7 separate regions of the Homo sapiens genome follow, and regions 1, 2, 3, 5, 6 and 7 are each linked to region 4. Evidence: promoter capture Hi-C in 16 types of primary human blood cells and fetal thymus (Javierre and others, 2016). All regions are on one chromosome and are shown on one strand. Each heading gives the region's core, a stretch centred on a gene start or on the middle of the fragment in contact. The rest is flanking DNA. Distances are from core to core; before and after follow the strand shown. Region 1 overlaps HPS5 (HPS5 biogenesis of lysosomal organelles complex 2 subunit 2). Region 2 overlaps GTF2H1 (general transcription factor IIH subunit 1). Region 3 overlaps HPS5 (HPS5 biogenesis of lysosomal organelles complex 2 subunit 2). Region 4 holds the start of SPTY2D1 (SPT2 chromatin protein domain containing 1). Region 5 overlaps GTF2H1 (general transcription factor IIH subunit 1). Region 6 has its middle 6.5 kb from the start of SAA1. Region 7 overlaps SAA2-SAA4 (SAA2-SAA4 readthrough).

Region 1 (4,063 bases), core at 1,560-4,059, 330 kb before region 4:
TCCAGCATTTTGATGCATGATCAAAAACAGGCCCTAATGTTAGTCCAAACGTGAGGGGAAAAAATACTAAACATAAACCAACTCTTCTAGTAGGGGGCAGATCTGTAGATCTGGATGGAAAGTTCTATCAACATGTTAAAAATTATTAACACTTCAGAGAAATTCCGTGCACAAGATAATCCTGGTAACAGGAGCTCGTGGAAAATAATGGCTTCACATCAGGAACCAACAACAGACACATTCATCACCTTCATTTCCGTGTGAGCCACAACACTGATCTGGCAGGTCCTCTTCCTGCTGTGAGGTGAATTCTTTAAATCTCTCATCTTCTGAGAGGGTTTGGCTGTGAAGGGAGCAAGAGTCTTCATCTGACTGACTGCCTCTTCTACTACTAATGATACGATAAATACCAGAGTCCAAGATGCTGAAACTTTCCTAAAAATTAAAAGAATTCAAAAAAAAAAAAAGGTAAAAATTTCCTTTATAACGTTAATATAACTTCTGCAGAGAAATACCAACACTCAAATAGAAAGTTAATAACAACCATTATGGCTTATTAGAACAAACTGATGAGCAAGGCTTAGGTGCCTGGCAGCTGGGTCACTCCGTGTGCTAGTGGCATCAGCTGCCATATTTCTCTAGCTTGTCTTCATAAAGCTTGGTAGTGAGAATGGGGATTAAATGAGATAATCCAGACCTGCATTCAGGCTCAAATTAGCATGAAGCACCTAAAATCACATATTAGAGCAACGTAACTTATGCTGGGAGCTATATGAGTATATCAGGGAACAAAAAATAATAAACAATGACAAAACAAAATGTGGCTCCAAGACACACCTAAATGGAGGCTTCACAGAGCTGAGCCACTAGCTGAACAAAAGTTCACCCCTTCCCACCAAAAAACATAAATGGAAAGGACAACAAATTTGGGGATCCTAGAGGTAAATAAGAACAACCGAAGATGGAAAAATCTTACCCTACAAAATCCTTTAAAGGTGAGAATACTTACATGTGATGAAATGGAGCTTCTTCTACTGCTACAAGCTGAATCCAAAGGTTCAAATTTTAAGATCAATTCTTCCAGTTGAGAAATTAGATCATTGTAGGTGCCATGGTCCAGCTGAGATTTCAAATGCTCCAATTTATCTGCAGTCAAAGTTTTTCTTGCCTAATAAAACAACAGCGCAATGGAATAGCTATTTGTAGGTAAATCTATATTCAAATGGCCAATATATTGAAAGAGGTCTAGGCCGGGCACGGTGGCTCACGCCTGTAATCCCAGCACTCTGGGAGGCCGAGGCGGGCAGATCCCCCGAGGTCAGGAGTTCAAGACAAGCCTGGCCAACATGGTGAAACCCCGTCTCTACTAAAAATACAAAAATTAGCTGGGCATGGGGGCAGGCATCTGTAATCCCAGCTACTCGGGAGGCTGAGGCAGGAGAATCATTTGAACCTGGGAGGCAGAGGTTGCAGTGAGCTGAGATCACGCCATTGCACTCCACTCCAGCCTGGGGGACAAGAGTGAGACTTCATCTCAAAAAAAAAAAAAAGAAAAAAGAAATAAGTCTAATATAGAACATAAAACTTCAATGGTGCTTTAAAAAGGCTTAGCAAGCTGGAGAAAGATTTAATGAGAATTTTCTTAGGAATTAAGAATTTAAGGCCATGTGTGGTGGCTGATACCTGTAATCCCACACTTTGGGAGGCCAAAGTGGGCGGATCACTTGAGGTCAGGAGTTCGAGATCAGCCTGGCCAACACGGTGAAACCCCGTCTCTACTAAAAATACAAAAAAAATCAGCTAGGTGTGGTGGCGAGCGCCTGTAGTCGCAGCTACTCAGGAGGCTGAGACACGCGAATTGCTTGAACCCAGGAGGCAGAGGTTGCAGTGGGCCGAGATTGCGCCACTGCACTCCAGCCTGGGTGACAGAGCGAGACTGTCTCAAAATAATAATAATAATAATTTAATTAAAATTTACCATATACGCAATTATCCCCCTTAAAAACAAGTTCTGAAACAAATTTGTATGTAAATTTGATGTTTTAAATGAAAATTGTACCCTCTTTCTTACCCTCTATCCACCCCTAGATATATCTATCATGCTTTCTCTGGGCATGTATTGCTGTATCTGTAGGTCACACAGACAGGGTTAATAAAATCAAGCAACTTTGTAACACAATCTTGCAAGGTAGGAGAGTTTCACCAATCCATGGTAAAGATGTCTAGGTAAGCTCTGACTCACTCTGCTGGCAATGACAGAATTTTGGAAAAGACAGCATGTACGAGCAGCCAAGTTCCATAGGCCTCTTCTTAGCAGGCGTTCCACACAGCGCTCCACAGATATCAGGGAGAGATGTGAGACTTTCCCATTTAGGTGCAAACAGAACAATTCATTCCTACAGACAGCCACATCCTGAATATCTACGAAAACCACAGGTGTGAACATACAAAATGTTAACCAAATACCCCTTACAATTTTAAAAGGGATGCAATTATTCTAATAAATTCATTTCTTACGTAGGGTTTGGCTTGACTGAATTTCATCTCTATTTTTCTACTTGCAGTTCAATGAAGAAATCATATTTTAGAAACTATTCTAAAAAGATCAAGAATAAAAGATGTGAAGAAAGAACTATATCTCTCTGACCTAAAGTCTTATGTTTAAAAATGCTGTTTTCTGTGAAAAGGAATTGGGACATTAAAAGAGGATAATCTACATTAGAGGCCAGACTATAAGGTTCGAGTGTTACAACCTGGTCCTCAATGAATGGATTTTAACATAGTATGTAAATCAATATACAGTTCATGAGAAAATATCTGCCTTCAAGAAAATATCTGTCTTGGCAGAGTATCCTGAAAGGACTTAAAAGACTACTTTTCAAGGGACATACTTAAGAAATTTAAGCCACAAGAAAGTCACTGTTGATGAGACCAGTAAGTAATGATTTCTTTCTCTCTCTCCTTTTTTGGTTTTTACAAACATAGAAAAAGAACCAAAAAGTCAACATAACACTCTCTACTGAGCAGCAATGGTAAAAAAGCTAGATTTCCCCCACTTCTGGTTTTAACCCAAAGAATATAGAGATTGATTTTCTGTCTCAGTCACATATGATGGCTGTTGCTCCCACAAGAACAATTTGAACCCCAAACTATAAAGATACAAAATGGGAGTCAAAGTAAGACTTCTGGCAGGGATAAAGACTCAGGGCAATAGAGGGAAAAATAACCTGTTTGTTCCTTTTCAGCAGTTACTAATGAAAACTGCACTTAAAATTACTCATGAAAACTGGAAGACACTATGTTAAGTGAAATAAGCTAGGAACAGAAAGTTAAAGACCACATGTTCTCATTTATATGCAGAAGCTAGAAAAATGTGATCTCACAGAAGTAAAAAAGCAGAACAGAGGTGACTAGATTCTGGGAAGGGTAAGAGGAAGGAGAAGACAGGGAAAAGACTTGTTAAAGGATACAAAATTATAGCTAGATAGGAGGAATAAATTCTACTGTTCCATAGCATTGTAGGATGACTATAGTTAATAATAATGTCTGTTTTCAAAGAGCTAGAAGGACAATGAATGTTCCCAACATGAAGAGCTAATAAATGTTTAACATGGTAGATATGCTAACCACCCTGATCTGATCAGGGTACACTATACACTGCATGTATCGAAACATATTATGGGGTACATATTTATGTACCCCATAAATATGTACAATTATTATGTGTCAATTAAAAAATAAATAAAATGACTCATGAAAAAATAAATAGCTGAATGCAAATTCACTAATGCATGTTTGGGAAGTAACTTACAATGGGAAATATCTATGGTCAATCTTTAAAAGAAACGTAACTGGGCACGGTGGCTCACACCTGTAATCATACATGTTTGTAATCCCAGAACTTTGGGAGGCTGAGGCCGGCAGATCACCTGAGGTCAGGAATTCGAGACCAGCCTGGCCAACATGGCGAAACTCCATCTCTACTAAAAATACAAAAATTAGCCAGGTGTGGTGGTGCGTGCCTGTAATCCCAGCTACTCAGGAGGCTGAGGCAGGAGAATCA
Region 2 (3,984 bases), core at 927-3,426, 290 kb before region 4:
TATTAGAACAATTGGGAATACCTTATCTGTGGAATTATGGAATGGAATTCAGTCAGTTGGTATTCTAGTGGAACCAGAATAGTATTAACACATTCAACAAAATTTTGAATACTATTTGTATGTTTGGTATCTTTTTTGGATGTTTATTAGTGAAGTGAATTAATAAGGCCTTTCCCAAAGAAGTCAGTCAGTTAATGTTAATTTAATTATTTACTAACCAAGGTTTGTAGTGATTTTTATGACTATACAAGTTTTATCTTAAAGCTCCACTGCCTCTCTGCCTTCATACTTAAACATGCCTATTTGACCATATTAGACTTCCAAAGGAGCAGATTTTATAGGTCACTTAAGACCGTGAGAAACCAGTCAGGCTTTTTTGAGTCCTGCCTCTGTGCAAAAAGTGAAGGTGAGGGACTTTCTCTGTCTATGCAGTTAGTTCAGAAATTTTTTTTTCCACCTTTGTCCAGTGTCCACTGGGACCTGAGCCATCTTTCCCTGATGCTCTAACGTGTATGTGTGTATGGGCTTTGTTTTAGGCTGATGTCCGGCCCCAAACTGATGGCTGTAACGGTCTAAGATATAATTTAACTTCTGATATCATTGAGTCCATATTTAGGACCTATCCAGCAGGTAAGAAGAATCAGTTCTTTCAGATGGTTAAAATATATGGATATATTCTATAGTATATCAGTGAAAAACAAAAAGCTTCAGATTCCTGATCAAGTGCAATAAATTATGTAAAGTACTTTTTACCCAGTGCCTGACATATGGTAGATACTAGGGGCTCAGTAAATAATGTGTTGTCATCAGTTCACTAATATGACTGCCATTCGAGTCTGTCTGTACTACTAACTCAGATCATTCTTCATTCTGCATCCAGAGTGACCTTCCTAACCCACAAATTACTTCCCGTGCAGATGCCATCCTAAAAGTATAGATTCCTTGACCCCAGCCTCAGTGATTTATTATGTGTAGACAAGGATGAGAGCCAGTGTGTCAGTCATTCTTCTGACTAAGCAGTACTCTCTTAAGCTGTATTCTGTTCTCGCTTCCCTCTTCCCCACTCTTACCCCTTTAGTCCCTTAGGAATCTCTCTCTCAGGACTCAGCTCAAGCATCACCTCCTTGCCACCTCTATGAAATCCTGGCCAGTCCCAGTGGCTCACGCCTGTAATCCCAACACTTCAGGAGGCTGAGGCAAGAGGATCCCTTGAAGCAAGGGGTTCAAGACTAGCCTGGGCAACAAAACAAGACCCTATCTCTTTTTTTTTTTTTAATTGAGACAGAGTCTTGCTCTGTCAACCAGGCTGGAGTGCAGTGGCGCGATCTTGGCTCACTGCAACCTCCGCCTCCCAGGCTCAAGTGATTCTACTGCCTCCGCCTCCCAAGTAGCTGGGACTACAGGCACGTGCCACCACGCCAAGCTACTTTTTGTATTTTTTGTAGAGATGGGGTTTCACCCTGTTGGCCAGGCTGGTCTTGAATTCCTGACCTCAAGTGATCTGCCCGCCTCAGCCTCCCAAAGTGCTGAGATTACAGGCTTGAGCCACAGCATCTGGCTCTTTTGTATCTTTCTGATGGTAACATAATTGTGTAGTGTTTATTATGTGCCAGACGCTTTTCTAAGTTCTTTTTCTATAGTAACTGATTTAATCATCACGTAAACCTATGAAGTAGAGGTACTGTTATGACCCTCATTTTACAGATGAGGAAACCAGGGTGCAGAAAGATTAAGTAATTTGCTCAGGGTCACACAGATAGAAAGTGGCAGACCTGGAATTTTAAACTCAGAGCTCAGCAAACAATGCTGTTGAACTCTATGCTTGCTAGTGTGTAAGCCGCTGGAGTGCTGAGCTGACAGTCCAGTGGATATTGAGATCATTATTACCCCACAAGCTAACACAGTGCCTTGGATTGAGAGTGCACATATATAAATGAGCAAACAAGCAGACTCAGCTCTGACTCCTGAGATTCTTGGTATTTCTACTAAAACTTCAAAACCTTATTCTTTTGGTGCAAATAAGGTTTTGTTTGTAATTTGTAAGATTTATAGAGGTCATACCTCACCTAATCTCTCAAGTTACCCTTCATATTTATAATTAGATTATAACTTATAGTATGTAGAGTTGAGAGCTTTATGGTCTAGATTTTGCTATTTGTATTTCAGTTACCTAATTTGAGAGGTTTTAAAAATGGAAATTCAGTATATAATATTTGTGGGTTTTTTTCCACAGTAAAAATGAAATATGCAGAAAATGTTCCCCACAACATGACAGAGAAGGAATTCTGGACACGTTTTTTCCAGTCCCATTATTTTCACAGGGATCGGCTGAATACAGGGTCAAAGGATCTCTTTGCAGAATGTGCCAAAATAGATGAAAAAGGTAACTGTTTATCTCTGATAGACACTGGTATTTAACTTGCCACCCTCTAGACATTATAAGTGTTAATTTCTGAGACAGATAAGACATGCTGAACTTTTTATTTTGTTGATTTTCTAGGCCTAAAAACAATGGTTTCATTAGGAGTGAAAAACCCACTACTAGATTTAACAGCTTTGGAAGATAAACCATTAGATGAGGTAAGAAGCAATAAAAGAAGTTTTGAGAGAAAAGAGTCTTTTCCTAGTCTTCAACATTGTCTTAAGCGTAGTAGACCTATTCCACTTGTGAGAATGTCAAATAAGCAAAATACTGTTACTTGAAGTGATTTATCGGAAGTGCTTTGAAATAGCGTTGTTTGCCATTAAAATTGCCTAGAAGAAATGAAATTCCTGTGTGAGTTGCTAAAACCTTTTAAAAATAAATTTCTAGCTCCCTCATCCGCAGTTCTCTAGTAATAATAAAGGCTTAATGTGATGAGTTCAGCTTTATGCTCTAGCTAACATTTAATCTAAAGAAATATGGATAAATTAATAAATAAGGAAGATAACAAACATTTGTTGATTGCTTACTATCTGCCAAACCTTAAGCACTCTCATGACCCTTATACCATGCCAACCCCAATGTTTCAGCAAGTAGGCCATCATGTATGACCTACCTACCTCAGCATCATGACCCCAGACCTACAGATTTATCTACTTGCAGAGAAAGAGATGGTTCCTGTTGTGATCAAGGATAATTTTATCACTGCCTCTGTCTTCTAGGCCAGAACTTGTCTTCCTCAGTTATTCCCTTTACTCTGAGTTTTCATTTTCTTGCTCTTATTTTTCTTCTTTTTCTGTCTCTTTTTTTTTTTTTTTTTTTTTTTTTTTGAGAAAGAGTTTCACTCTGTTGCCCAGGCTGGAGTGCAGTGGCGCAATCTTGGCTCACTGCAACCTCTGCCTCCCAAGTTAAAGCCATTCTCCTGCCTCAGCCTCCCAAGTAGCTGGAATTACAGGCACGTGCCACCACACCCAGTTAATTTTTGTATTTTTAGTAGAGACAGGGTTTTGCCACGTTGGCCAGGCTGGTCTCAAACTCCTTACCTCAGGTGATCTGCCCACCTTGGCCTCCCAAAGTGCTGGGATTACAGTCATGAGCCACCACGCCCAGCCAGTGTATTTTCAATTTATACTTTGATCATACAGTGAGTTTTTCAGGACATCACCCTTTCAGAAGTGAAGAAGAATCTATACAAACATGGCCCTCTTTAATTATCCTGAGAAAATAAAGCTTAGTGGCGCTTAGACTTACAACTTAGTATGAAAGGAAGACTTTTTTAGTGCTTTTTTTTTCTTTAAAATAAACATGATGGCATATTGTACATGTACATTTGTAACTTTATCTTCTGTTTAGTATCAATAGCTGTATAAACCATCCCATAGTTTAAAACATAGACTTTAAAACCAAACTAGCTGACTTAGATTCTGATATCTTCTAACATTTCTAGGCCCTGTTTGGTTTTTGTTTTGTTTTGTTTTGTTCTGTTTTTTGAGATGGGATCTCACTCTGTTGCCCAGGCTGGAGTACAGTGGCCTGAGCTCGGCTCACTGCAACCTCTACCT
Region 3 (3,986 bases), core at 1,487-3,986, 350 kb before region 4:
GGTGTCTTTCCTTCAATAACAAATGCGTTCAGAAGGTTCAGGAGCATGATTTAGTTTTTCTCAAAATGTCATGACATCCTGCTGAATCTTCTCCCACTAGGCCTGCTGGGACCAGAGAAACCGATCGCATTTTTCAAGCATGCTTTGTATCAAGGCCCTGAAATCCCAAAGAAAAGAAACAAGCAAATTTAGTTGTCATTGTTCATTCTTCACAGAAAACTTAAAAACTACAGAGTTTCAGAGGATTCAAAAAGTTGACTGATTCTGTGCATTAAAAGACACAATGCACAGAGTGAAAAGGCAACCTACAGAATGGAAGAAAATATTTGCAAATCATGTATCTGATAAGAGGTTAATATCCAGAATATCAGAGAACTCTTACAGCAACAACAACGAAAACACCCAACCTGATTCAACATGGGCAAAGGACTTGAATAGCTATTTCTCCAAAGACAATTATATAAATGGTCAATAAGCATATGAAAAAATGCTCAACATCTCTAATCATTAGAAAAATGCAAATCAAAACCACAATGAGATATATAGTACCTGACACCCACTGGGATAGCTACTGTTTAACAAAAAACAACAACAGAAAATGACAAGTGTGGGGCTAGCACATGGAGAAATTGGAACTCTTGTGCACTGCTGGCAGGAAAGTAAAATGGTGCAGTCTCTACAGAACAGTATGGTGGTTCCTCAAAAAATTAAAAATAGAATTACCATATGATTCCAGAATTCCACTTTCAGGTATATACCCGAAAGAACTGAAAGCAGTGTCTGGAAGACATATTTGTATACTCATATTCATAGCAGCGTTATTCACAATAGCCAGAAAGTGGAAGCAATTCAAGTGTCTGTCAACAGATGAATGGATAAACAAAAGGTGGCATATATATACAACGGAATATTATTCAGCCTTAAGTAGAAAGGAAATCCTGACACATGCTACAACATGGATAAACCTTTAGGATGCTATGCTCAGTGAAAACAGGCTGGTCACAAAACGACAAATGTATTAATTCCACTGAGATGAGGTATGTAGAATAGTAAAATTAATAAAAACAGAAAGTAGAACTGTGGTTGCCAGGGGCTAGGTAGAGGAAGTAAGTTGCTGTTTAATGGGTGTGGAGTTTCAGTTTTGCAAAATGAAAAAGTTCTAGAGACTGGATGCAAAACAATATGAATAACTTAATACCACTGAGCTGAATATTTTTAAATTGTTAAGATGATAAATTTTATGTGTATTATACCACAAAAAAAAATTACTGAGACATTAGGTATCTGGTACCAGTAATTTTTTTTTTTTTTTTCAGAGTTTTGCTCTTGTTGCCCAGGGTGGAGTGCAATGGCGTGATCTTGGCTCACTGCAATCTCTGCCTGCTGAGTTCAAGCGATTCTCCTGCCTCAGCTTCCCGAGTAGCTGGGAATTACAAGTGTCTGCCACCATGTCCAGTTAATTTTTTTGCATTTTTTTTTTTTTTTTTTAGTAGAGACAGGGTTTCACCATATTGGTTAGGCTGGTCTCGAACTCCTGACCTCAGGTTATCCACCTGCCTCAGCCTCCCCAAGTACTGGGATTACAGGCATAAGCCACCGTACCCAGCCAGGTACCAGTAATTTTTTTGTTTTTGAGATGGAGTCTCGCTCTGTCACCAGGCTAGAGTACAGTGTCATGTTCTTGGCTCACTGCAACCTCCACCTTCCGAGTTCAAGCGATTCTCCTGCCTCAGCCTCCCAAGTAGCTGGGACTACAGGCACGTGCCACCACACCCAGCTAATTTTTGTACTTTTTTTTTTTAGTAGAGATGGGGTTTCACCATGTTGCCAGGATGGTCTCAATCTCTTGACCTCATGATCCGCCCACCTCGGCCTCACAAAGTGCAAGGATTACAGGCGTGAACCACCACGACCAGCCTGGTACCAGTAATATTTTTAAAGAATCAAGGACACATCAGATTATTCAGGTTAATCTGAACAGCATCTTGGTCATGGCTGTGAATGAAATATTACTTTAGCCTCTTCCCTTAATTACCACATCAGTCTCAGTCTCCTCATGTTAGTGATGGGTCGGGACTAAATGATCTCCACATCTACATCTGAAAGTCTGTGGCCTTCTACCTTCTCCAAGCACTATGCAGAGGGTAGGACAAACTGATATTACCTCTGCCTTTTCTCAGCAATCCTCAGGATATCGCAGGTTCTGGTAAACTTCTCTGACAACTCAAGGGCCAGACCACATTCCTGTAGCAGTGACCAAGCCCGATCTGGGCCCATGGCCTTAGCTAACAGAAGTGCCACATTCTCCACATTGATGGGGGAAGGCCCATCACTGAGGCTCCCATTTAGTGACTCCTGGGGGGCTGGCCTCGTGCTCTTGCTCTGTATGAGATGAAGGAGAAGCTTCCATTCCTCCACGGTCTCTGGGATCCAACCTAAACACACACAGGGAAGTGTCAGTTTGACCACTCTTAGCACACTGACTGGATACAGGAGATGGTCAAAACTGTGAAAATGTTTAATGCCAAAACGTAAAAATATTCAAGAACACAATCTCATCACCCTAACACAAGTTGTTTTCTGAAAATTTGTTGTATAAATTGTTCATGAGAAAGAGAAGCCACAAAATTAACTTTAATTTTTTTCTTTTTTTTTTTTAAAGAGAGACAGGGTCTCACTACCATGTTGCCCAGGCTGGTCTTAAACTCCTGAGCTCAAGCAAGCCTCCCACCGCAGCCTCCCAAAGTGCTGGGATTACAGGCATGAGCTACCACACCTGGGCAGCTTCAGAATTCTTTCAACCACTCAGTAATTACCCAGGGCATATCCTATGCTAAGCACTGGATATGTAATGATGAACAGAAGAGACACAATCCCTGTACTCTTGTGGAGCCTACAGTCTAGTATAGGAGACAAAACTTAAACACGTAAGTATATACTTATAAAGTATGCTAAGCACTATGAAAAAAAAGAACAAGGAAGCATCAGAGAGAATGGCTGATTCTGCCTGGAAGATCTGAGAAGGGCTCTATGAGGAAGTGACATTGAAGCAGAAAGCTAAAAGATGAGACAAGCTTAGAGGACATATGCATGGGGCCCACATAATGTGAAAACTTGGAGTAGGAGCCATCAGAAATAAGGGGCCTGCATTTCTGATAAAGGAAACATGGAAGACAATGTGACACAGGAAAGAACTTGACGAATTCAAGGAATTTTTCTTTTCCTTTTTGTTTTGAGACCAAGTCTTGCTCTGTTGCCCAAGCTGGAGTGCAGTGGTGCGATCTCAGCTCACTGCAACCTCCACCTCCCAGGTTCAAGCAATTCTCCTGCCTCAGCCTCTCAAGTAGCTGGGATTACAAGCATAAGCCACCATGCCCAGTTAATTTTTGTATTTTTAGTAGAGATGGGGTTTCACCATGTTGGCCAGGCTGGTCTCAAACTCCCGACCTCAGGTGATCTGCCCACCTCGGCCTCTGAAAGTGCTGGAATTACAAGCGTGAGCCACCGCGCCTGGCCAGAATCATCTTTAATTAATGGGAAATTAAAAAAAAAAAAAAAAAAGAGCCTAAGCACAAATTTTGGAGGAAGTCCTTGGTCTGAACCCCAGCTCCAGCATTTACAATTAGTAGCTGTGTGACTTTGGGCCAATTAACTGTCCCTTCTGTACCTCAGTTATCTGGAAAGTGGAAATAATAGTAACTATCCCCAGAGTTTGTTATCTCATTTAAAACAACATATGGAAAGCACACAGTATAGTGCCTAACACATAGTAGGCACTCATGAAATAGAAAAGTTGCCTATAGTTTATTCTTAATTGTGATTTCATAACATATCAAGGGCTATAGGTAAAAAACAAAAACAAAAACAAAAACTCCACAAATGTGACAACTAAGTGGAATCACATATTAAATATATGATCATTGAAAGGTTCACCAAATTTTTTTGTTGAGAGGTCTGGAGTAACTTCTAAAAATTGACAACCAAGA
Region 4 (4,196 bases), core at 377-2,876:
TATTATGACATATACACATATTTTGAAATTTTCTGCTTTAGGATTATCTGTCTGCTTTTCTCCCAGCAGCTACTGGCTTTCAGAATAAGAAATGACTTAGTTCTGATTCTTCCACAGAACAGTACTGGGCATCAAAGCTAGTACTATCTTTGACCTTTACTGAAATTCAATAAGATCTAGAATGAAATACAGACCAAATTATGCAAAGATGAATGGTTACTAGACCCAATATTGATTCATCTGGAAAATTTACAGATGCTTCTAGAAAGTAAATCTGTTGATCTGGGTTTCAAAGGTTTGAGTCTATACCTTCAACATGCAAAGCTTATGACTCACGGCTTAGAGGAATGGTTATTCAGAGTTCTTGGGATAAGGGATGGCTGTGTGTGTGTATATATACATATATTTATAAACATAAATATAGACCTTTTTCAGATCAATATTTTCAAAGGGATAAAAGAATGAACTAGCCTCAGAAGACAAAAAAAAGCTGCAGAAGAGAAAAAAACGAATATTGCAATATACGAATATCTAGGAAATGCAGAGCACTTCGTCGGAGCTCAATAAATTCTAGCTGAATTGACTTTGAGAGCCGTTTTAGTTCTATACCTCACTGCTCAAACCGCAGGCATCACCATGCAACTTATCGGTTTACAGCTGTGCTGTGGGTACCATCTGAAAATCTGGAAATGATTAGCTTATGCAAAACAGCCATAACCCCCAGAAACCAGGCGCTCTCCACCACTTTACCATTTAAGTCTTACACCGCTCTTGCGACTGTAAGCGAACTGACAAACATCTACTGACCAAATGGGACCTAGATTTTAAACAAAGACTGAAATCTGGAAGGCTACAAGTAAACAGAAGCTGAAACTAGCTCACCTATTCTGTTGGCCAAGGATTTCGTGGAATCTGCTAAACTTCTCTTCCCAAAAGATGATACCTATCCCCTGGGAGGTGATAATTTAATCACCTCGGTGGCTGAGTGGGTGGGGCCGAGTCAGAGAATTCTTTCAAGAAATCGCTAAACGTTTGACTTGAAGATCGATGAGAAGCCAGCCAAAAAGCTATCAAGCCAAGGACCCCAAACCCCCTAACTCCCTTACATACATATTTCCTTCCCAATCTCTAGGCTGAAGTTTATGTGGAAGCCAAAAACTACCAGCGCTAGAATCCACAGCGTGCCAGGCACAGCTCACTCACGGCTTTCACGCAATTCTAGCTACAACACCCAAACCGCAAAGTCCCTGTTGCAGGGGTAAATAAGCCGGCGAAACCCATTCACAGGAAGGCTCCCGCGTCTCGTCCCAAGCTCTTTTCTCCCGAGTTCCCAAGAGTATAAACCCAAGAAAAGGAAATAAGGCGTCCGGGTCTTTCCTCTCCCGGAGCCGATAGGCGGCTGCCCAGAAGTTCCATGGGCCACACACATTCCGAACTTGGAAGACTAGGGTCCCCTACATTGATGCCCCAGCTGCTACTTACCGGCACATTGTTGACACCTTGTCCCTTGGAAGCTATCATGAGAATTTCTCTGAAGTCCATGTTGGGCCGAGGCGGGAGAGACTGGGCCAGGCACTCGGAAAGGACTGACAGCGCACCTAACCGAGGCGCCCAGCTACAGCCAACTGCACTGCCTCGGGAGCCCCACTCCCACCCCGCCTCTGCGGGACCACTTCCGGCGCCTTCCTATGCCGTCTGCCCGCCCCCTTCCCTCCACGGCCTATATCCTTTCAGGGCCGCCACAGCGCTCGCGAGTCCCTGCGTAACTTCCGCTTTTAGGCCGAGACACGTACAAACGTGATACGTGGCTGCTGGCGTCGACCCGAGGGGCAGGGACTAGGCATTTTAGCAACCAAGGGGGTGTGGCTAAGCGAGAGAGCGGCTTCCCTGGTGGCCCGGGCGCGCGGTCTTGTCATCTTGTTGCTCCTTGTGAGCGCTGGGTAGAGAAAGTGAGGGGGTAGAGGGTTTACTTGCCAGGCCTGGGTTCTCTGGGTGTCACGGGTAGGCGCTTAGATCCAAAACGGCGGCGCCACAACAGCTGAACAGACGGATCTCGAGCCGGGGTTTGGGCTACTTGTGTCTAGGCGCTCGCGAAGCTGCGCAGGCGCACACAGCAGCGCCGTGGTCCTGTCTTGGATGCCCATTACTCATCAAATTCGGCCACATGCCGTGCGCTTACCTCCTACTCAGATGCACGCGTGCCGGGGATGGGGGCACGCGCTTACTTCTTTTGCCCCGTTTAGAAAGTAAGTTTTATGTGGAGCAGCCAACCTGTGTTTTTGCTCAGGCAATGGATTAAGGAATTTCACATACAGACCCAGCCTTGACATAACTTTGGTGTACTGATGAACATATGCTTCATATTCATATTCATTGGGATCCTAGTCCTGACTTCTTTTGGAGAGTTATCTTGGATCTGTAAGGTCATTTCGACTTAGCAAAAACACTGAAAATAATTAGGCAAACCTGGGTCTGCAAGTGGGAACCCGCCAGGGGATTGATAGCAAACAGGTACTCGGGATCTTTTCGGTGGGATGGAAATGCCTCCAAACTGGATTGTGGGGATGGTTGCACTATACATGTACTAAAAATCGTACACTTAAGACGGGTGAGAATGATACAGTATGTAAATATGTCAAGCTGTTAAAACATGCTAGACAGGCCGAGCGCGGTGGCTCACGCCTGTAATCCCAGCACTTTGGGAGGCCGAGGCGGGCGGATCACGAGGTCAGGAGATCGAGACCATCCCGGCTAAAACGGTGAAACCCCGTCTCTACTAAAAATACAAAAAATTAGCCGGGCGTAGTGGCGGGCGCCTGTAGTCCCAGCTACTTGGGAGGCTGAGGCAGGAGAATGGCGTGAACCCGGGAGGCGGAGCTTGCAGTGAGCCGAGATCCCGCCACTGCACTCCAGCCTGGGCGACAGAGCGAGACTCCGTCTCAAAAAAAAAAAACAAAAAACATGCTAGACAAAGCTGCTGGCTCTTACTCTTTGATGGTTTAATGCTGCGAACGTAATTCAAAATCAAAGCTGTTGGAACTTTAAGTTATTTTGCGCCTTAAAAGAATGTTATTATGGAACCTGAGCTACATAACAGGCAGCTGCGTTTGTTCCTCTGATTATAGATTAGCCTTTCTTTCCTACATCGTTTTGTGAAAACACAGGGAGAAGACAGCCATGTACAAACCAAGGAGAGAGACCTCAAGGTAACCACACCTTGATCATGGAATTCTAGCCACCAGAATTGTTAAGACAATAAATGTCTGTTGTTTAGGCCACCTAGTCTGTGGTACTTTGTTATTGGCAGCCCTAGCAAACGAATACACTGGCATATGGTGTTTTCAATTAATGCCAACCATCATTTCTCAAGGAAGCTCTTCCTGAGCTATCTCAGGGCCCCTTTTATAAATTCTTACAGCCCCCCAGTATTTCCCTTCATGCAACATTTTACAGTTTGTAATTACATATTTGTTCTTTTTTTTTTTTAAACTATTGGCTATATCTGTGATAGACAGAGCTATGAAAATGGGCATAAGCCTATTTTACCCATCACTATTTCCATCACCAGCACAGTTCCCTGCTAATGCACATAAAAGTTGCAACAAAGATTTTTTGACCAAATTAATGAATCGATAAGTGGAAAGCTCCCAAGATTCAATATTGTAGTACTTAGCATACATTGAGCCATTACTATATGCTTAGTGCTTGACATGGATTATCTGACTTGATCATGAGTGTTGTATAAGGCATTTCCTGTTACTGTTTTATAGATGAAAAGCTGAAGCTTGAAGAGATGAAATTAGACTTATACTGTACCATTAGTCAATCGGAGAGCCAAGACTAGAACCCTTAGATTACCCAAACCAGACTCTATATTTCAGTTAGCCCATTTGAACTGGTACAAGTCTATGTACATGGAGTTATAATGTAAAAAAGGGCTTGGATTAGGTAACTAATACCTAGTTAGTCAAAATCAAGAACAACTGCTGGAGGTGGGAATGAGGTAAGGAATGAGAGGAGCAATTTTCCTGTATCCTTGTAAAACATTCTATCATCGAGTTCAGCAAATACTTCCTGGGAAACTACTACTGTGTGCCCAACCTTATGGATGATACAAAGAAAGACCCATATCCTGCCTGCCTGATCAGAACTTTTAATTCTTGTGTGAACACAAGTAACAATTATGTAAAACAGAA
Region 5 (4,000 bases), core at 1,319-3,818, 270 kb before region 4:
TGATAAGAAACATCTGCTCCACGCCAACTCCCAGAGCTGATGCTATTGTACTTGCACATTGGAGACTGAAAGGAAAGAAGGGACTAAATGCTGGGGAGGTAAATTAAGACAGAACCAAATGAGCTAAGTTGCAAATATATATATATACACACACACACATATATGTACATGTGTATGTACATATATATTTTAAAAGACTGTTTACTGCAGTTGCTCAGGAACTGCTTTTGATTCACATTAAGCTGCTTTCAGAAATTAAAAAAACACTTTTTAAAGGGTGCATTGATAAAATCTGAGGTTTTTTGGTTGTCGTTTTTTTCTGTGTACATTTTTTTCCTAAGTTTATGGCACAGGGTAGACCTTAAGTATTCCTCCTCCATCCTTCATTCTTCACCCTCCATTGGATCCTCAAGTTTTAATGAATTCCAATTATACCTTACATCAGCAAGTTAAAAAAAGTACTTTAAAATAAAGCAAAGGGAGACTGTTGCTCAACCATCAGGAAACAGTTGTCAGAAGACATCATTGGTTCTGTGTTTCCTACGGAAATAAGAAACGATAAATATTGCACTGAATGTTTGTGGTTTGGAGTCCCTGAATAATAAAGAGGGAATATATTTGCAGAAAGTCGCATAGGGTTTTTTAATGCAGAATTTTGTCAGAAGACAATGGCGCTGCATGTTTTTCTTTGAGTGCAAATGTACATTGCTAAGATTTTTTTAAGATGGCATGTGCTTTGAAAAGAAGATATTGCATTTTTAAGAGTTTAAAAATCTTATGAGTGAGAAATATTAAAAAAATCTTATTTTCACCTCTTTAGAAGAAATAAAAGATGTTTCTCCTATCTCCTTTTCTCTAGTATTTGACTGTTACTGTCCTTGGCGAATCGATAATCATTGCATAGTGACTGAAAAGCCTAAGTGCAAAAAAAAAAAAAAAAGATGTTCTTGTTTCTGAACTTCGTGCCATATTTTGTTCCTGATGGGATCAACTTAATGTTTAAGACTTTAGATGTCTTGTATTAAAAATTACACAAAAAAAGTAAAACTTTTTATACTTACCCTTTTAACTCTAACACATCTCTGGTTTCTCATTATGTGTGAATTTCCTTGGGTGGGCTGCCTGAGAACTGTTCATTTTATTTTAGGCCATGTTACAAACTGGTTATCCTTCATATAATGACTGCTAAGGTCAGAATCTAAGCCAGGCATGGTAGCACATGCCTGTAGTTCCAGCTACTTGGGAGGCTGAGGTAGGAGGATCACTTGAGCCCAGAAGTTCAAAAGTCCAGACTGAGCAACATAGTGAGACTCCATCTCTTTTTTTACAGAAAAAAAAAGAAAAATTTATGAAGACCTTGAACTGGTAAAGGGAAAGAAGCCACATCATTTTCTGCCTTCAGTCTTCCCATTTCTCTTTCAGATCAGTATATGTACTGGTATAATCCCTTAAAATTTACACTTTCACAAAGTACTTTCAAATGTGTTACTGCTACAGTGGGGCAAATAGAAAAATGATTGAAATAAAAAAAAGTGGCTATTGGGCAAGGCAGACATAAGAAATAGAATGTTCTGTTGAGTGCTGTGTTGAAAATTAAGTTGTAAGCTGGGCATGGTGAGTCATACCTGTAATCCAGCACTTTGGGAGGCCAAGGCAAGAGGATCACTTGAGCTCAGGAATTCAAGACCAGCCTGGGCAACATAGCAAAACCTCATCTCTACTAAAAGTAAAAAAAGTTAGCTGGGCGTGGTGGTATGTGCTTGTAGTTCCAGCTGCTCTGGAGGCCGAGGCGGGAGGATTGCATGAGCCCAGGAGATTGAGGCTGCAATGAGCTATGATCACACCACTGCACTACAGCCTGGACAGTAAGACAAAGCCCTGTCTCAAAAAAAAAAAAAAAAAAAAAAAAAATATATATATATATATATATATATATATATAAAGCCTGAAGGAAAGACTTCATTTAAAAGAGCGTTTTAGCTAAGTCTTGAAGGTTGAGTAGGATTTTGTGAGGTAGAGAAGAAAGTCATCTCTTCTAGACTGAGGGAAGAGCATGATGATGAGAAGGTTTGAAAGACTGAAATATGTTAGAAGAACAGGAAAGATGTGTTAGATTGGAGAGTTGGAAGTGACAAGTAAGGCTCAGAAAACCATGTTAATTCAGGTTGTGAATGGCCTTGTATGCTAAAGTAAAATACTCAGACCTTACCTACTAGGCATGGGAGACTTGAGAGAAAGTTTTAAGCAAGTTGCTTTTATGGGGGGGTTTTCTGGTGGTGGGGGGTTAGGCAGGGGTTAAATAACTTGGCAATTAGGACAGATTTAGAAGACTTTCTGAACAAACCACACAGGAAAGCGTCTACATTAAAATGAAGTCCTGGTAAATAGGAAGGGCCTGAGTAACAGCATTTCTACAGTGTATGTGACTAACTCACAGGGAGTGAAGGAATCAAGGGTGATTCACAGAGATAGCTGTGAATTTCATGTCTAGCTTGCACTTGAAATATTTGAGCCTTGGATACCTTTAGCAATGAACTTCAGCAGCTGTATAGGCCTTTTATGGCCCTTCACCTTCTTGCGGAAAATAATAGCACCACTGATGGTTGAGGGCTGCTGTAAACCAGCATTGTGCCAAACACTTTTTCTGCTGTATCTCCCTTCCCACAACTGAAGAAGCAAGTAGATACTACAAGATTTTGTACAGATTAGAAATGGTTTAGAGGTTAAGTAATTTACCCAAATTCACACAGCTAGTAAGTGTCAGAGCTAGGATTTACCCTAAGGCTTCTCTAGTCTGGAGAAGGGATGAGATGTCTGTGAAGTTGCAAGTTGTTATTCCGCAGCCCAGGCTTCCATTGCCTAGTTTTTCCTTTGACTCCTTTGTCATTCCTGCCTGACTCTATTCTGTGCTTTACTTGTGGCAAATCGCATCATGGGATTAGTCTGCCTAGTAGGCCCTGAGGGCTATAAAATGTAATAATGTAACAACAGCATGTCCTGCCTTAGGAGAATGAGTCTTTTCTGGAAAGAAAGTCAGTAGTGGCCTAGCGCAGTGGCTCACACCTGTAATCCCAGCACTTTGGGAGGCCGAGGCGGGTGGATCACCTGAGGTCAGGAATTCGAGACCAGCCTACCCAACATGGCGAAACCCCATCTCTACTAAAAATACAAAAAATTAGTCAGGCGTGGTGGCAGGCACCTGTAATCCCAACTACTCAAGAGGCTGAGGCAGGAGAATCGCTTGAACCTGGGAAGTGGAGGCTGTGTCGAGCCGAGATCAAGCCACTCTGCTCCAGCCTGGGCAACAAGAGCGAAACTCCATCTCAAAAAAAAAGTCAGTAGTGTTAGTCTGCTTTAGACATACTACAAAGTGGGTGAGGTACCTTGTAAAATCCACTTCAGGATGGAAAACAAAAGAATGTTTTAACATCTGTAACTAGAAAGGTAACCCCACTCATCGAGTCTGAAGAGTTTAATCCAGAAAGTGATTTCCTGTTGCATATACCATCTTTCTAGAGCTGACAGTGTCTGGAATGGAAAGCTGTGTGTTTCAAACTTAGGTTTGCTGTCTCCAGTGTCAAGACTTGCATGGGATTCCTTAGGATTACCTCTGCCCTTTCCCAATTTAGCTCCCTCAAGACTCAGCTGTTCTCCCAGTTCTTGAGGCCAGGGGAGTCTTAGTTATTTTCAGCTATTAAAATGTCCAGAACTGGAGTATTGCCTGGAACCTGGTTCAGGAGTGACCAGCCTGAGTTAGTAGTCCATCTCCTTGTTTGGGTGTATATTAAAGTCACAGAAGAGACTGGAAATCTTGTCATCTCGTGGCCACTACTGACTTTCTTTCCATCCTGGGTGGAGTTACATATGTGTGTGTGTGTGTGTGTGCATGCTATATATATGTGTGTGTGTGCAATACATATAGTGAAAACATAATTCGTGGGGTTTTTTTTTCCCTGAGTTTTGAATAGTGCTGAAGTATATAAAATAGAAAGTGTCTCTG
Region 6 (4,143 bases), core at 1,102-3,601, 370 kb before region 4:
CAGCCTCCCAAGTAGCTGGGATTACAGGGACCTGCCACAACGCCAAGCTAATGTTTTGTATTTTTAGTAGAGATGGGGTTCACCATGTTGGCCAGGCTTGTCTGGAACTCCTGACCTCAGGTGATCCACCCGCCTATAATTTATTACTCCCTTTTGCAAATGTTTGAAAAGGAATAAAGTGCAATATTTTTAAACAGAATGCAGAGTTCTGTTGTCCTTTGGCAATACCAGTTTCAGACTCTGAGAGTGGCTCTTGCTGTTGCCGACAGTGGGCTGATGACCAAATCCCAACATGCCCCCGCTGCGAGTCCTTCATAACCTGATTCAGTCATCACTTAGAGGCCAGCAGGCTTCAGGGAGGCGTGAGCCTCAGCCAACAACCTATAGGGGAAGAGACGCAGAACTCAATGCAGACAGGTTTGGATTCTGGTGCCTAGAGAATGCAACTTGGAAACTCTGAGCCAGGAGAAAAGGGTTCTCTCTCCATGAGAGAGTGTGGGCTTTGTGAGAAGCGACACACAGCAAACACAATTAAGAGTCCACCCCTCAGCGGGGCGCAGGGGCTCACGCCTGTAATCCCAGCACTTTGGGAGGCCGAGGCGGGTGGATCACGAGGTCAGGAGATCAAGACCATCCTGGCTAACACAGTGAAACCCTGTCTCTACTAAAAATACAAAAAAATTAGCCGGGCGTGGTGGCGGGCGCCTGTGGTCCCAGCTACTCGGGAGGCTGAGGCAGGAGAATGGTGTGAACCCGGGAGGTGGAGCTTGCAGTGAGCCGAGATCGCGCCACTGCACTCCAGCCTGGGCGACAGAGCGAGACTCCATCTCAAAAAAAAAAAGAAAAAGAAAAAGAAAAAGAGTCCGCCCCTGAATTAAATAGTTGGTCCTTTTGTGTTCCTGGTGATTCACTTGCTAAGTGGAAGAAACAGGAGGGAATCTTTTCTCCTGCCCTCCTGGTAATCCATAGCCCATGGCCTGGCTTTACTTCTGTAAAGTGGCAGGAGACCTTTTGACAGCTGAGCCATTTCTTATTTTATTTATTTTAATAAGAGATGGTAGGAATGAGCAATGATATTAGTACCTGGGGACTGTTGTTCTTAAGGAGAAACAATCTTAGAATGATTAGTGATACCCCTTGCTTTCTCTTTTCTTTCATTATACTTTTTGTACACATATTTTTCCCATTTATTTATTGGAATCTTACTGATTTATTATAAGTATAAGCTTTATGTCTACACATGTATAATCATTTTTCCCCAAGTATAAGTCTCTTTTTCATGGAGGCACAGCCTAGACCTGGTTAGCCGCCATCTCCCCTCATTGTATGCCCAATATCTATTGTAGTATCTGCTGCATAGAAGGCACTCGATGCGTGAATGGATAATGACTGATGATGAATCAATAAATAAATGGACATGTCATTGTAAAAAATTCTAAAAATCTAGAATAACACAAGCTGTTGGCACTACCTAGAAACACAGATGTAAAACTTCCTAGGTTGTGTTTCACCATGGGAACATGTCTTTGAACAAAAATGGGATCATATTCTATTGCACTCTTTCCCTTAAGAGATACTTCTCCAGGTCATTAAGTGCTCTTCCACAATATCAGTATATGGCAGAGGCAAGGTCATACCAGGTCTGTCTGAAACCAGGGCTTGGCTCTTAACTTGCAGCCATACTGCCTCCAAGTCTAGGTGGCTGGGTTTTAGGATCTGTAATGGGAACTCAGTGTCACAACCTCTACTGGGAAGGTATTCTGGTGTTGCATAACAGGACTTTCTGTTAGAGATAACCATGGCAAAATGGAATAGAGACAAAGTTCAGGTTTCTGCTGCCAGGAGCTGAGATTGCTGTGACCAATGGCATTCTCCCAAACCAAATAATCCAACCTGGAATTACCATAAACCACTCCTCATCTTTTCAAGGGGTGTCCAAGTTCCCAGAAAAGAACATTTGTTAAGGGATGGAGGCAAGGAGGTGGAGAAGAAAGAGCACTGGCCAAGGTATCATGAGTGTCCTGGGTTCTGGTCCTTGAATAAGCCATTTATCTTCTCTGCAGCTTCTCCATCTGATAGGAGTTTGGAGGCAGAGTTTTTTCTTAATGAGCAAAAGACAGTCGTGCCTAGGAGATGTGGTGTACATGTTAGAAAGAAGGGACTGGCTGTGACTCTATAAAAGATGAATTCATACAAAAACAAATTACCCTTTCCCAGGGAGAAAGTTTGGATCCAGTAATTAGAGATCTCAAAAAGTAGAAGACCTGCCCTGTGAGGCCTGTGGCCTCCAAGTTTGAATGCTGTGTGTCAGCTTTAAAAACTAGTTTCTTGCTGATAAATGTTTCATATTAAGCATGTGTTGAGAGTACTCCTTGCCTACCTTCACTAGCCACTGTTTCCTTCCCCTCCTCCCTTGTCCCTTCATTCTCTCCAGAACTTTCTGCTAACTTCCATTCTCTTCAGGACTTCAGCATGGTTGGGAGAAGATCAGAAAGGCATCCTCACTGTTTTTATTTTAGTCCACTTGACCTTTGGGGAGTAGTTCCACTGGCTCATAAGTATCAGCCCCCCATAGCACAGCACCCCACACTGAGCCCGGAAGCAATAAAGAATCCCAATCTGCTGTCACTAACCAGCACGCTCAACTGCCATGCCCTTTACTCTTCTCATCTCCCTGCTTTCACGTCACACCAACTAATTTCTCTATGAGTCAGCCTCAACTCTCCCAACACTCTGCCCACCCTTCTTCTACTACCTTCCAGTGAGCTCCTCGAAAGAAGGGTCTGCGGTGAGGATGCCCCTTTATCTCTGCCTATTTCCTTCCCATTACAAAAACTTGAAACCTGCCTTTCCCATGTTGATTTCACTTTATTCTCATCTTTACCCATGGGGTATGCCTCCTGCAATTCCTCCTAGACAATAGAATGAGAAAGAGGGGTCCTCGTCCTCTTTGCTTTCCATGACCATTTCTCCATTCTTCACCTCTGTGATGTGTCCTCTTTGAAGTCCCTGATAAATTCATTACCACCTTCTCTCCAGTCTTACTAATGTTATCTGCACAAGTGATTTCCAAACAGGAAGATTTTCAAACACTGATTCCTGAAGATCACCCCCAACTCGCTGAACTGAGACCAAGACCTCCAAGATTATGGCTTAGGAATCTGCATTTTTTTTTTTTTTTTGAGACAAGAGTCTCGCTCTGTTGCCAGGCTAGAGTGCAATGGTGGAATCATAGCTCATTGTAACCTCAAACTCCTGGGCTCAAGTGATCTTCCTGCCTCAGCCTCCCAAGTAGTGAGGACAACAGGAGTGTGCCACCATGCCCAGCTAATTGTTAATTTTTTGTAGAAATGGAGTCTCACTATGTTGCTCGGGCTGGTCTCAAACTCCTGACCTTAACCCATCCTCCGCCTCCGCCCCCAAAAGTGTTGGGATTACAGGTGTGAGCCACCGTGCCCAGCCTAGAAATACCCACTAGAAGCTTCTGTGTAGACAATCTGCTTAGTGATGTTTGGAGACAAAGTACCTCTTTATTGTATTCATTGACAAAACTCTCCAGTCCTCTCCCATCTTCATGGAAAATTTTCACAGTTCATTTACGGCCCTCTTTCCAACACATTCACTGCCAATACTCTTATTGACAATAACTGTATTGTTGAACCTTCCAGTATCCTGCATTCCCGGATCAAGGCCCCCTCAAAGCCCTGATATGCAAATATCTGGGAAAAGAATGTTCCAGAGGAAAGGAACAGCTAATCCGAGGCCCCTAGGGTAAGATGTGCCTGGGGGTTTGGAGACCAGTGTGGCCAGAGCAAAATGAGCAGGAGGAGAGAATTGGATGATGAGGTACGAGAGGAAGGAGTTAGGACAGTTTGAGTAAAGTTTGAAAACCATTATAAGGGCTTTGACTTCAACTATGAGTGGAAGTGGAATCCTCCGGAGAGTTTTGAATGGAGAGTGATAGAAGTTGTCTTGTGTTGTAACAGTCTGGCTGCTATACTGAAAAGAGACTAGTTGGCGGCAAAGGGGGAAATGTGGAAGCCAGTTAAGAAGCCATCATAACCCAGAAGGTGATGCCTAATAACATCTCTCTGGGAGCAGCGGAGAGATGATAAGGGTTTGCCTTCTGAATATGTTTTTTGA
Region 7 (4,286 bases), core at 870-3,369, 390 kb before region 4:
AAACCCCATACATATAACCAACTGATCTTTGACAAAGTCAACAAAAACATACAGTGGGGAAATGATACCTTATTCAATAAACGGTGCTGATAAAAGTGGATAGCCATATGCAGAAGAATGAAATTTTATATCTCTCATCATATATATATATACTCAAGGTGGATTAACAACTTAAATGTAAGACCTGAAACAAAAAATTCTAAAAGAAAACCTAGGAAAATTCTACCAAACATTGACCTAGTCAAAGAATTTATGACTAAGATCTCAAAAGCAAATGCAGCAAAAAAATATATACACAAGCAGGACTAAACTAAACTAAAAACTTCTGCACAACAAAAGAAATAGCCAACAGAGTAAACAGACAACCTAAGAACGGGAGAAAATATTTGCAAACTACTCATCTGACAAAGGACAAGTACCAAGATTCTACAAGGAACTCAGACAACAAGAAAAAAGGAAATAACCCCATTAAAAAGCGGGCAAAGGACATGAACAGGTATTTTTCAAAAGAAAACATACAAATGGCCAACAAAATATGAACAAATGCTCAACATCACTAATCATCAGAGTCACAAATTTAAACACAAATTTAATCACAAATTAAAACCACAATGAGATACCATCTCACACAATCAGAATGGCTATTACTAAAATGTCAAAAAAACAACAGATGTTGGTGAGGATGTGGAGAAAAGGGAATGCTTATACACTGCTCATGGGAATGTCAATTAGTACAGCCTCTGTGGAAAGCAGTATGGAGATTTCCCAGAGAACTAAAAATAGAGCTACCATTTGACCCAGCAGTCCCATTACTGGGTACTACCCAAAGGAAAATAGATCATTATATAAAAAATATACCTGAATGCATGTATTTATCACAACACTATTATTCACAGTAGCAAAAATATGGGATTAACCTAAGTGTCTTAGGTTAATCAACGAATGATTGGAGGGGTGTGTGTGTATGTCTGTATACACATATATACACCATAGAATACTATTCAGCCATTAAAAAGAATGAAATCGTATCTTTTGCTGCAACATAGATAGAACTAGAGGCCATTATCTTAAGTGAAATAACCCAGAAAGTCAAATATCACATTTTCGCACTTATAAATGGGAGCTAAATAATGTGTACACATGGACATAGAAAGTGGAATAATGGACACTGGAGACTCAGAAAGATGGAGGGCAGAAGGGGGCCGAGGATTGAGAAATTACCTGACAGGTACAATGAACTCTACTTGGGTGATGGTTACACTAAGAACCCAGATTTCACCATTATGCAATCTATCAGTGTAACAAATCTGTACTTGTACCCCCTAAATCTATAAATAAATAAATGAATGAATATTTTAAATAACAATAATAAATGCTGAATGAACACATGGAAGCACATTTCTGAACGTTTGAAATAATTCCTAATTCAATGACATGTTTAAAAATAACAAGCAGCTCAATTTGCATGTAGCATGAGGCACATTAATTAGTCATAGGAGATAAGACTGAAAAGCTTGGATACCCTATTAGTCAGGGTTCTTGAGAGACACAGGACAAATAATTTATTTGTGTATGTATGTATGTATTTATTTATTGTAAGGAATTGGCTCACAAGATAATTGGGGCTGAGAAGTCCCACGATCTGCCCTCTGCAAGCTAGAAACTCAGGAAAGTGTAATTCAGTCTGAGTTCAAAGGCCTGAGAACCAGAGCAACTGATCACGTAAATCCAATTTGAGGGCAAGAGAAGATGAGAGGAGATGTCCAACTCAAGCAGTGAGGCAGGGGAAAAGGGAGGCAAATCTGTCCTTCCTCTATTTTTGTTCTATTCAAGCCTTCAACAGATTGGGTGATGCCCAGTTGCATTGAGAATAGCAATCTACTTTATTAAGTCCAATTCAAATGTTAATCTCCTCTGGAAACACCCTCACAGACGACCCCAGAAACAATGTGAATCTGGGCAGCCTCAAACCGACACAAAAATAAATATAACAGTAGGCTGGGCTCAGTGACTCATGCCTGTAATCCCAGCACTTTGGGAGGCTGAGGCAGGCAGATCACTTGAGCCCAGGAGTTCAAGACCAGCCTGGGTGACACGGCGAAACCCCATCTCTACAAAAAATATAAAAATTAGGCAAGTGTCATGGCGCACATCTGCAGTCCCAGTTATTCAAGAGGCTGAAGTGGGAGGATCTCTTGAGCCCCGGGAGGTCGAGGTTGCAGTGAGCCATGATCATGCCATGGCACTTCAGCCTGGATGAAAGAGGGAGATGCTGTCTCAAATAACGAAACAAAACAAAACACAACTATAACAAAGAGCAATGCAATTTCCCTTTCTCAAACTTTTCTAACAGAGAGAAGCATGTTAATTCTTACTGAGGAAAACCAAGTAATTAATAAAAGGTATTTGGGTGTGCCAGAGCATAGGTATTAGGTGTGACTTTACAAATTATAAATTCCTGGGTAAACCAAGCACCTTTTTCCTTGGATACAAATTTCGATTTAAAAATTTTTTTCTTGTTTTTTTTATACTTTTTCTTCCTCTGAACCTATGGACTATATTGAATTAAATTTTTTTTCAAATTATAGATTTCAAGAAGGGGAGTGATTTGGTCCTTTACAGACGGATGAATGAATTTCTGTATCCAAATGTTGCTTCAGTTAATTATTTCTAGTAATAATATGTTGATTGCAAAGTTTTGAATATCTACAAAGACTAGACTTTGAAAGCTTGCTTTATTTGACTTTGAAAGCCATTCTTTCTCTCATCCTCCCTTTCTCTCCCTCCTGCCCCCCAAAATCTACAACTTCAGTACTTGTGACAGAAATCTAATTGTAAGCATTTACAATTGCTATTGTAATAATAGCATTACAGTCTTTTTTTACAACTTGGGGTCAACTCAGACTTTACTAGACTGAACACTAATCTCAACAGTGCATTGAGTCTGCTCCCATGAGCCAATCTTCCACGCCTCTCTCCATCTTATTTATCTTGCCCTTGCCTTGTTTTGGCATTGGCACATCTTTGAGACTCAGACTCAAACCTCCTATACCTCCTATACCTACACTTCTATTAGTGTCTTTTGATGAGAACTGTATGAGAAAGTTCTGTTGTAAATAGTTCTACTTTATATCCATACATTTTCTTCCTCCTTGACAAATAAATTTGTCTTTACTCTGTAAATATAATTTTATAACTAGTCTTCTCACCTTAGGAGTCCTCCTCAATCCTTTTTCAGAGAAAAGGGGTATGCCAGTTATCAGTTTCTTTATTTTCAGCTCCACACCCACCCCTTTGTCCTATTTGTGATGCTGGAGCTGGACCCTGTGAACATTTCTCCTTTGCCAGTTGGGCATGATGTTAATCTTCACCCATAGAGGGCGCTAGAGGGCCAAGCAGGAGATGAAGACATCTTTTCCTGTTCTTTTGTGCTTTGCTTCCTTTCAGCTCCTGCAGTACTCTTCTCCTGTACAGGACAACCAGTGGCACTTGCCCCAGAGATCTGAGTGGCATCCCAAGGCCAAGACAGTTTCCTGACAATTTCTGTGGCACCTCAGTAGGATGTCCATGATGTTTACCAGCAGCCCACTTATTTTAATCAGCTTGGGCTGCTGTAACAAAATAGTACAGCCATGCTGTGAGTTGGGGTTTCAACATATACATTTTGGCAAGATACAGTTCACTCCAGAGCACTGCCACTTCCACAGCTGGCTTCCCAGGGGTTTTGATAACCTATCTCCTGCCCCCAAGCAGTTTCCCAAATTTGTCACAGGAACCCTAGCTGCATTCCCAGAGTTAAGTTACACCCTGGGTAGCTTCCTGCCAAGTTTCATTAATACCTCAATGGAGTTCTTATATGTCAGTTTTGGCTTGAAGGACCCAGTAAACTATTTGCCATCCAATGTCAGTCTTGTGAGGGGCCCAATCTCAAATTTATACCTTCTCATATTCTGTACTCTTAGAAGTTAATGCTGCTCTCAGTTAATAATTCTTTATATTAAAATTTCCCTTTTCAAATTACTGCCTGGTTTCTGTCTCCCAAAGGGACCCTGACTGATAAAACAGTTCTTCTCTATCTGGCTCTCTCTCCACTGCCACCACTTCCACAACTTTGATCTAGTTAAGCTCCAGAAACTCAGAAAACATTCATAAAAGGAGTCGCATTACATATTTAGACTTGAAAGAAGGCAATGAAAATAGAGTGGAAGAGAACTGCATTGGAGGTATTTTTTAGATGGAGTGGGTAGAAATTCATTAATGCCTGGATTTGTAGGTGTTGCTGAGAA

The links. Contacts are between HindIII fragments. The CHiCAGO score rates a contact against its expected background, and 5 or more counts as called.
Region 1: a fragment that was not itself captured here is called in contact with the fragment with the promoter of SPTY2D1 in region 4 in 1 of 17 cell types (neutrophils); the score reaches 7.0 in neutrophils.
Region 2: a contact is called between a fragment that was not itself captured here and the fragment with the promoter of SPTY2D1 in region 4, in 2 of 17 cell types (neutrophils and naive CD8 T cells). The highest score is 8.1, in neutrophils.
Region 3: a fragment that was not itself captured here is called in contact with the fragment with the promoter of SPTY2D1 in region 4 in 4 of 17 cell types (total B cells, erythroblasts, naive B cells and 1 more); the score reaches 7.2 in total B cells.
Region 5: a fragment that was not itself captured here is called in contact with the fragment with the promoter of SPTY2D1 in region 4 in 1 of 17 cell types (neutrophils); the score reaches 5.5 in neutrophils.
Region 6: a fragment that was not itself captured here is called in contact with the fragment with the promoter of SPTY2D1 in region 4 in 1 of 17 cell types (naive B cells); the score reaches 5.1 in naive B cells.
Region 7: a fragment that was not itself captured here is called in contact with the fragment with the promoter of SPTY2D1 in region 4 in 5 of 17 cell types (total B cells, endothelial precursors, monocytes and 2 more); the score reaches 7.0 in total B cells.

The regions. Positions count from the first base shown.
Region 1 is chr11:18,296,550-18,300,612 of GRCh38, forward strand. HPS5 (HPS5 biogenesis of lysosomal organelles complex 2 subunit 2) reads right to left here. Exons shown (of 23, transcript NM_181507.2): 10 at 2,243-2,421; 11 at 1,010-1,168; 12 at 249-435. Among named protein-coding and RNA genes, the nearest start is that of HPS5, 24 kb to the right of the region's middle. The HindIII fragment of the contact is 4,308 bases long and covers 656-4,063 here.
Region 2 is chr11:18,339,028-18,343,011 of GRCh38, forward strand. It overlaps GTF2H1 (general transcription factor IIH subunit 1), which reads left to right. Exons shown (of 15, transcript NM_005316.4): 5 at 537-630; 6 at 2,234-2,383; 7 at 2,501-2,580. Among named protein-coding and RNA genes, the nearest start is that of GTF2H1, 18 kb to the left of the region's middle. The HindIII fragment of the contact is 2,947 bases long and covers 704-3,650 here.
Region 3 is chr11:18,279,786-18,283,771 of GRCh38, forward strand. It overlaps HPS5 (HPS5 biogenesis of lysosomal organelles complex 2 subunit 2), which reads right to left. Exons shown (of 23, transcript NM_181507.2): 22 at 2,165-2,435; 23 at 1-157. The coding sequence ends at 97. Among named protein-coding and RNA genes, the nearest start is that of SAA1, 16 kb to the left of the region's middle. RefSeq lists enhancers at 2,808-2,867, 2,908-2,967. The HindIII fragment of the contact is 671 bases long and covers 2,402-3,072 here.
Region 4 is chr11:18,632,716-18,636,911 of GRCh38, forward strand. SPTY2D1 (SPT2 chromatin protein domain containing 1) reads right to left here and starts at 1,627. Exons shown (of 6, transcript NM_194285.3): 1 at 1,483-1,627. The coding sequence starts at 1,542. LOC105376578 (a long non-coding RNA gene) reads left to right here and starts at 1,634. Exons shown (of 2, transcript XR_931097.3): 1 at 1,634-2,246; 2 at 3,165-3,278. RefSeq lists a silencer at 612-791 and an enhancer at 1,848-2,117. The HindIII fragment of the contact is 3,460 bases long and covers 323-3,782 here.
Region 5 is chr11:18,365,971-18,369,970 of GRCh38, forward strand. GTF2H1 (general transcription factor IIH subunit 1) reads left to right here. Exons shown (of 15, transcript NM_005316.4): 15 at 1-1,075. Among named protein-coding and RNA genes, the nearest start is that of MIR3159, 20 kb to the right of the region's middle. The HindIII fragment of the contact is 9,719 bases long and covers 1-4,000 here.
Region 6 is chr11:18,257,679-18,261,821 of GRCh38, forward strand. No RefSeq gene overlaps it. Among named protein-coding and RNA genes, the nearest start is that of SAA1, 6.5 kb to the right of the region's middle. The HindIII fragment of the contact is 2,255 bases long and covers 1,225-3,479 here.
Region 7 is chr11:18,240,568-18,244,853 of GRCh38, forward strand. The region is part of intron 3 of SAA2-SAA4 (SAA2-SAA4 readthrough); the gene reads right to left. It also overlaps a transcript of SAA2 not described here. Among named protein-coding and RNA genes, the nearest start is that of SAA4, 5.9 kb to the left of the region's middle. RefSeq lists enhancers at 3,215-3,509, 3,640-3,689 and a silencer at 3,235-3,529. The HindIII fragment of the contact is 1,216 bases long and covers 1,512-2,727 here.